Regions from separate parts of the Homo sapiens genome. Here region 1 is linked to region 2. Evidence: promoter capture Hi-C in human tissues and cell types (Jung and others, 2019). All regions are on one chromosome and are shown on one strand. The core of a region is centred on a gene start or on the middle of the fragment in contact, and the rest is flanking DNA. Distances in the headings are between cores, read along the strand shown.

Region 1 (3,589 bases), core at 546-3,045, 700 kb after region 2:
AAGGACAGAACAATTTGCATTTTGCCGGGCTGTCCTCTAATGACAATAATTTCCTGAATGTTTTCAGGTTGCCTGTTTTAGCCATATGTTCTTCTCTGGCCGCTTCTCTCCAGCCCCAGCCTCAAGTCCAACTCATGATCTCTGGCCTAGGATACAGCAACAACCTCCTAAGGGAGCTGCCTCTGCTCTTATCCACCTCCAGTTTATTCTCACCGCATAGACAAGATAATGTTTTAAAAATGCAAATGCGATTACACTGTATACCACCTACTCAAAAGATCTAATGGCTTTGTATTGACCTCATAATAATACCCCTGCCCTTAATCTTACTTAAAAGGCTTTTTGTGATCCGATCCCTGTTTTTCTTCTCCTAACTTATCTCACCCTCTCCTCCTGCAATCAACTCAAGAGGCTGACTTTCAGTTTCCCAAATGATTTTTATCCCCTACCAGATTTGCCCAAATTGCTTTTCTCTCTACCTAGAATGCCTTAAAACTAAAACTCACTCCCTCCCATCTACCCATCCTCCTTAACTTGGCTAACTAGTATTTATTCTTCTGCTCTCAGGTTAGATATCCTTTCTTTTGGGAAACTATCCCTGACAGTATAAGGCTGGGCTGAATAATCCTCCTGAGTACTCCAGAGCACCCTCTGCTTCCATTCCCCTCGCATTTACCGTATTTCTTCGTAATGAGTTTGCGTATCTTCCCCTGTCTACTGTAAATTCCTGGCACATGAGGACTTCCTCTCGCACAACAATGTATCCCCATTTCTTGACACAGTTCTTGGTACAGAGCCGCACTCGATCAAAACTTATCAAGTAAATGAATAAATCAATCATAAAACACAATTGATACCATCCAAGAAGTCATAAAATTCTTGGGGCACAAGGTCTTAGGAGAGTAGATCTTTCTGTGTGTATCAGCCATATCCCTTTTTTTTTTTTTTTTTTTGAGATGGATTCTCTCTCTGTCACCCAGGCTGGACTGCAGTGGCACTATCTCGGCTCACTGCATCCTCCACCTCCCGGGTTCAAGCGATTCTCCTGCCTCAACCTCCTGAGTAGCTGGGACTACAGCCACCCCCCACCACACCCAGCTAATTTTTCAATTTTTAGTAGAGATGGGGTTTCGCCATGTTGGCCAGGTTGGTCTTGAACTCCTGACCTCATGATCTGCCCACCTTGGCCTTCCAATGTGCTGGGATTACAGGTGTGAGCCACCATGCCTGGCCAGCCATATCCCTTTTCATCAAGATGTTGTCAACCATACGCTCTCAAATCAAGTTGTGACCAGGTGCGGTGGCTCACGCCTGTAACCTCAGCACTTTGGAAGGCCAAGGCAGGAGGATTGCTTGGGCTCAGGAGTTCAAGACCAGCCTGGGCAGCATAGGGAGATCCCATCTCTACAAAAATCATTTAAAAATACTAGCTGGGCGTGATAGCATGCACCTGTGGTCCCAGCTACTCAGGCGGCTGAGGGGGGAGAATCATCTGACCCCAGGAGGTCAAGGCTACAGTGAGCCATGATTGCACCACTGCCCTCCAACCTGAATGACAGAGCAAGACCCTGTCTCAAAATAACCAAACAGAACAAAGACAAGTCGTTGTTGTTTTATGCAAACAGGCTTTGAACTTGGAGCAAGTCACCTAGTCAATCTTCTTATCCACAGCAAAGGAGTTCTGAAACAAACAAACAAACAAACAAAAGCAATTTTTACCTTTCACAGTGTTTCTTGTGTCATCCCAGATGGTTAAAATGAAAAGGCTTTAATGAAGGGACTATTCACAGAGTTTCTGGACTGGATAAGGTAACAAACAAGGTATGGTAGGACACCTAGAGACTAGCAATGGTGAGAAGCTATTACTACCCTCCCCGCTTCCAGGGCCTATTGAGACAAGGGAAGGAAACACTTATCAGAGCCCAGTGAGTAAGAGTTGTACCTAGGATGCAGCTACAGTTAGATATAGCATGCCAAAGCAGGAAGAGAGCTGGAAAGAGCTACCCTGACCTCTGCTGAATCCCACCCTCCCATCTTCCCACAGAGCCTCCCACTGGCTGAACCCCAAAAGCCAGCTAGGAAGAAAGCCTGGACAGTGCAGTCCACTGGATTCAGTGGAGCAGGGAAGAGCATGAAACTGGGAGGGACCCTAGGCCCACAAATAACCAGCATCACACATTACGCATTGTCTTCCTGCTATGACAGATGAGGACTCAGCTCCCTTACCTGCAACCCCCCACTCAATATAGTTCTGGCACTATTTTTAGTAGCTGTATTTTAATAAGCACCTCAGCCAGCACCTGTGAAAGCAGGACTGCATCCTCTCTATGTCCTTAGAAAAATGTAATTAAGAAATAGAAAATACAGAGATTTAATTATCAAATAATTTAAATGCACAGAAAAATCCAGAAATAAATATAACAGACACCCATTTGTGGTCAACCCAGATGTAACACATTAACTTTTAGTTATGTGTTGTTTCAGAATTGTTATTTTCTGTTTTTTAAGGAAAAAATTGCAGATACAGTTAAGATCACTCTCATAGGCCGGGTGCAGTGGCTCATTCCTATAATCCCAGCAGTTAGGGAGGCCGAGGCAGGCAGATCACTTGAGGCTGGGAGCTCAAGACCAGCCTGGCCAACATGGTGAAACCCTGTCTTCACTTAAAAAAAAAAATACAAAAATTAATCAGGAGTGGTGGCACACACCTGTAATTCCAGTTACTTGGGAGCCTGAGGCACAAGAATCACTTGAACCTGGGAGGTGGAGGTTGCAGTGAGCTAAGATTGTGCCACTGCACTCCAGCCGGGGCGACGGTGTGAGACCCTGTCTCAAAAAAAAAAAATTTACTCTCATCTCTTTCTCCCATTCCTGCCCTCTCTCATCTCCAGAAATAAACACTATCATTAAGTTGGTGTGTATTATTGCATCTATAATTTTGCTACATATATTTGTATCTATAAACAATATACAACGTTGTTTTATGTCATTTTTTAAATTTACAAACGGGTCCCTTACTATGATATCTTTTTGGATCTTATTTTATAAACGCAGTACAATGTGTCTGAGACTTGTTTGTGTTGATACATATAGATCTGATTAGTTTGTTTTGACTTCTATATGGTTTTATATTTTATACATACTTATATTCCCTGCGATTGGCAATATAGTGAAATATATTTTCACTATTTATTTTGTGTATTTCTACTTTTATGCTTTTCGTTTCCTTGCCCTTTTTTGGAAAAGGGAGGGTATCTTGTTTTCTTTATTCCCTCTCTTTTCCCCTAACCATTTAAGAAGTTATAGATTTTTTTTTTCTTATCTTAAATTTTAGAATGGGCTTGGTGGCTCATGCCTATAAACCCAGCACTTTGGGAGGCTGAGGTGGCCAGATGGTTTGAGCCCAGGAGTTCGAGACCAGTGTGAGCAACATGACAAAACACCATCTCTACAAAAAAAAAAAAAAAAACAAACCACAAAAATTAGCTAGGTGTGATGGTGCACACCTGTAGTCCCAGCTACTCAGGAGGCTGAGGCAGGAGGATCTCTTAAGCCTTACAGGCTGCAGTGAGCCAAAATCTCACCACTG
Region 2 (3,935 bases), core at 720-3,219:
GCATCTTTTCCTTTTTGTGTAAATTTCCATTCCTGGTAAGGATGGACACATGGAGAAACCCATCTTTTTTAATACAATGTCATCCCAAAAAAAATCACTTGGAGGGGTGGTGGCCCAGAATTCTGCATCCAGGGGCTTAGTGCAGACTTCTCAGGCTGGCCTGGAGGTGGTGCTATTTGCATGTGGTCAGTCTGGGATAATAAAGATGCTACCAGGGTATTGGATAAGAATCACTAGCTGAACTTCACTTTGCATCTCTGTAATTGGATTCAAGAGGTTAATTAGTGAAAAACAGGTGAATTTCACATAATCTTTGGAGTGGTGCAGAGGACTTTCTAACACAAAACTCACAGGCTATAAAAAGATAAGATTAACAAATTTGACTGCAAAAAAATTTCAAATTTCTATATTTAATAAACCAGCAGAAAACAAACAGCAAACTGAGAAAGAGTAGCAACTGCTGTGACAAAGGGATAATTTTCTTAATATACAAAGAGCTCTTACAAATAAATCCAATTTAAAAATGGGAAAAGGACCGGGCACGTGGCTCATGCCTGTAATCTCAGCACTTTGGGAGGCCAAGACGGCTGGATCACCTGAGGTCAGGAATTCAAGACCAGCCTGATCAACATGGTGAAATCTCTGTCTCTACTAAAAACACGCAAAATTAGCCAGGTGTGGTGGCGCACGCCGGTAATCCCAGCTACTTGGGAGGCTGAGGCAGGAGAATCACTTGATCCGAGATCGTGTCACTGCACTCCAGCCTGGGCGACAGAGGAGGAAAAAAAAAAGCAGTCATTTCATTGCAGGTGCCTCCAGTAATTGCTCAGTGCAAACATACATAACTATTCTATCACAGACCATTAAGGGTGTCTCTCTCCATTTTTAGATTTTCCGCTTGAGTTTCCAGGTAGTTTCTCACCTGTTTTCAAGCAGGGTTGGGGCAGCCGTTTCTTCAACAGCGCCAGCCGTAAAACACAAAGATGGAGGCCAACCTCCCACACCCGGGCACCCTCCCTTCCCCCATACTGAGATTGACAAGTAAGCAACCCGGTGATCAGTACTAAAATGGAGACGTCAGCCAGGTGCGGTGGCTCACACCTGTAATTCCAGCACTTTGGGAGGCTGAGGAGGAAGGATCGCTTGAGCCCAGGGGTTCGAGGTCAGCCTGGGCAACATATGGAAACCCTGTCTCTATGAAATGTAGATCCTGTCTGTGAGTGTGTGTGTATAAATAAATATATATATATATATACAAATACATACATATATATATTTAAAAAATAAAATGGGGACGTCCAACACGTGTACTAGGGGCGGTGTCTCTGCCTGGGGAGGTGGTGATGACAGGGCAGGCTCCACCCAGGAGAAGCTGGAAGAATGGGAGTTCCGCGGCAGAGGAGGCGGGGCAGGGCGTTCCTCCAAACACAGGAATACCACGTGCGAAAACAAAGGGGTGTGCGAAGACCGGGTGCATGTGTACAGCTGCAAACTGGGGGAAAGGCGCCAGGCTTGGGCGATGAGGATTTGTTCCCCCATGGATTCCCTTCCTGCCCAGGGTCCGCTCTCGCCGGTCGAGGGTGCCTAACAATACTCCTTGCCACAAGGTTCGCAGCCGAAAAGGTCCTTCAAGTCCGGCCATCCAACTTTCACTTTTTATAGACAAATATACAGAGGCCTTAGATAAGTGAAACGGCTTGTCTCGGGTTACAGCTCTAGCCAACACAGGGTTTCTGACGGTCAGTCTGCGGATTTTCCTGCCTCTGGTCCGCAGGCACTGCCCAGGCTGTCAGCCCCAAACCCTACTCCGGGGACCGCGGTCAGGTTCGTCTCCGGGCGGACTACATCTCCCACAATGCCTTGGGCCCAGCCTCCCTCCTGCCGCCCGGCTGGGTGCCGTCTCCACCAACAGAAAGGCAGAATTTCCAGGGCCGTTCTCGGCAGCCAATGAGCGCGGCGGTGGGCGGGCCTCTCCCGTCCATTGTTCTCGGTGCCCCACGGGCTTGAGCCGGGGTGAATCTGGAGGGGCCGGGCCGAGCCCGGGGGCGCTTTCGCACGCGAAGCAACCGCTAGAGCAGGACCTGGTCTCCCGAGAGGTGAGCCGGAGAGGCAGGCCTGGAGCCACGCGGACCCCGGGCAGTAGCCCGAGGTGAGGGAATAGTGGGCCTGGAGCCAGCTGCCGGCAGCTCTGCTGGGGGAGGGGCGTCGGGGTCGCGCTCCGTATCCTGCGGGCCCTGCAGCCCCGATTTACGCGCCGGCTCCGCTCAGCGAACCGTCCCGGACGCGTCTCCCTGGCGGAGAGCTCCTTGCCTCTCCTACCGAGAAGCGCAGGCTTTGGACGGGAAGGGGCATTCGACGACATCCCGCGCAGCGTACACGTTTTACAGATGGGGAAACTGAGGTTCAGAGGGGGCGTGTCGTGCCCCAAGTCAGACCGCAAATTAGCTGACCTGGCACACTTTTCCCAGGCTCCCAAGTAGGAAGAGTTCTCTTACACCATATGCCAGTATTTCTTCTAGTCATTTGAGTAAATACACGTTGAGAGCTTCGGTTTTCCCACTAGCTTTTATTTTTTGTCCTTTTTTTTTTAAGCTTTTGTCAGCTTTTCTCCCCTTTTCATTGAGGGAGGGTTGTTAGTTGAGTCTTTATGATGTAGTAATGATTTTTTAAAAAATTTTTTTATTTTTGTAGAGACTGGGTCTCACTCTGTTGCCCAGGTTGGTCATGAACTCCCGGCCTCAAGCCATCTTCCCTCCTCGGCCTCCCAAAGTGCTGGAATTACAGGCGTGAGCTACAGCGCTTGGGCTAAAAATAATTTTGTATTGCTTTTATAATATTTTAAGTCGTTTGCAATTCCACTGCTTTCAATATTTTGTAGGTGCCGTCCCGTTCTTTTTTCCTGTGAGTTCATTTTTTTTTTTTTTTTTTTTTGAGACGGAGTTTTGCTTTTGTTGCCCAGGCTGGAGTGCAATGGCCTGATCTCCGCTCACCGCATCCTCTGCCTCCCGGGTTCAAGCGATTCTCCTGCCTCAGCCTCCGGAGTAGCTGGGATTACGGGCATGCGCCACCACGCCTGGCTAATTTTGTTTTTAGTAGAGACGAGGTTTCTCCGTGTTGGTCAGGCTGGTCTCGATCTTCCGACCTCAGGTGATCCGCCCGCCTCAACCTGCCAAAGTGCTAGGATTACAGGTCTGAGCCACCGCGCCCGGCTGTGAGTTCATTTTTAAAGGGAATTGAGGACTTACTGTGTCTATGGTTTTTCTGCCCTGCTGATTTTGTGTTTATCCATTATTTTCCTATCAGAAGGATTATCTTAAATCATTAATGATTAATCTTTGTCAATATAATTTTTAAAATATTAAAAACATACAGCGTAATGTGCAGATCTTAAATTTCATATGTTTGCTCTTGTGCCGCCATTGCCAAATGAAGATATTGAAAATTTCCATCATCCCAGAAGGCTCCTTTGAGCCCCTTTCCTGTCATTACCACCTAAAGGTAGCCATTATTATAGCACAGTTTCTTTTCTTTTTTTTCCTTTTCTTTTCTTTTTTTTTTTTTTTTTTTGAGACAGAGTCTGGCTCTTTCGCCCAGACTGGAGTGCAGTGGCACGATCTCGGCTCACTGCAACCTCCTCCTCCCAGGTTCGGGCAATTCTCCTGCCTCAGCCTCCTGAGTAGCTGGGATTACAGGCGCCCGTCACCATGCCTGGCTAATTTTTGTATTTTTGGTAGAGACGGGGTTTCACTATATTGGCCAGGCTGGTCTCGAACTCCTGACCTCAAGTGATCCGCCTGCCGAGGCCTCCCAAAGTGCTGGGATTACAGGCAACCACGCCAAGCCTATAGCACAGTTTCTAATACATGCTGCTATATGGGTGTGTCATAGTTTATTAGCCATTCCCTGCTGCTGGATTTTTAAGGACTCGATTTTTT

What was found. The method cuts DNA at HindIII sites, captures the fragments that hold promoters and counts their contacts. A contact is called where the count stands out against the background at its distance.
Region 1: a contact is called between a fragment that was not itself captured here and the fragment with the promoter of ZSCAN2 in region 2, in 1 of the 25 tissues and cell types used here (hippocampus).

What each region holds. Positions count from the first base shown.
Region 1 is chr15:85,297,058-85,300,646 of GRCh38, forward strand. No RefSeq gene overlaps it. Among named protein-coding and RNA genes, the nearest start is that of MIR7706, 82 kb to the right of the region's middle. The HindIII fragment of the contact is 7,430 bases long and covers 1-3,589 here.
Region 2 is chr15:84,599,040-84,602,974 of GRCh38, forward strand. It overlaps ZSCAN2 (zinc finger and SCAN domain containing 2), which reads left to right and starts at 1,970. Exons shown (of 3, transcript NM_181877.4): 1 at 1,970-2,096. It overlaps LOC105370947 (a long non-coding RNA gene), which reads right to left. Exons shown (of 4, transcript NR_186225.1): 4 at 395-764. RefSeq lists an enhancer at 1,818-1,867 and a silencer at 2,188-2,337. The HindIII fragment of the contact is 21,972 bases long and covers 1-3,935 here.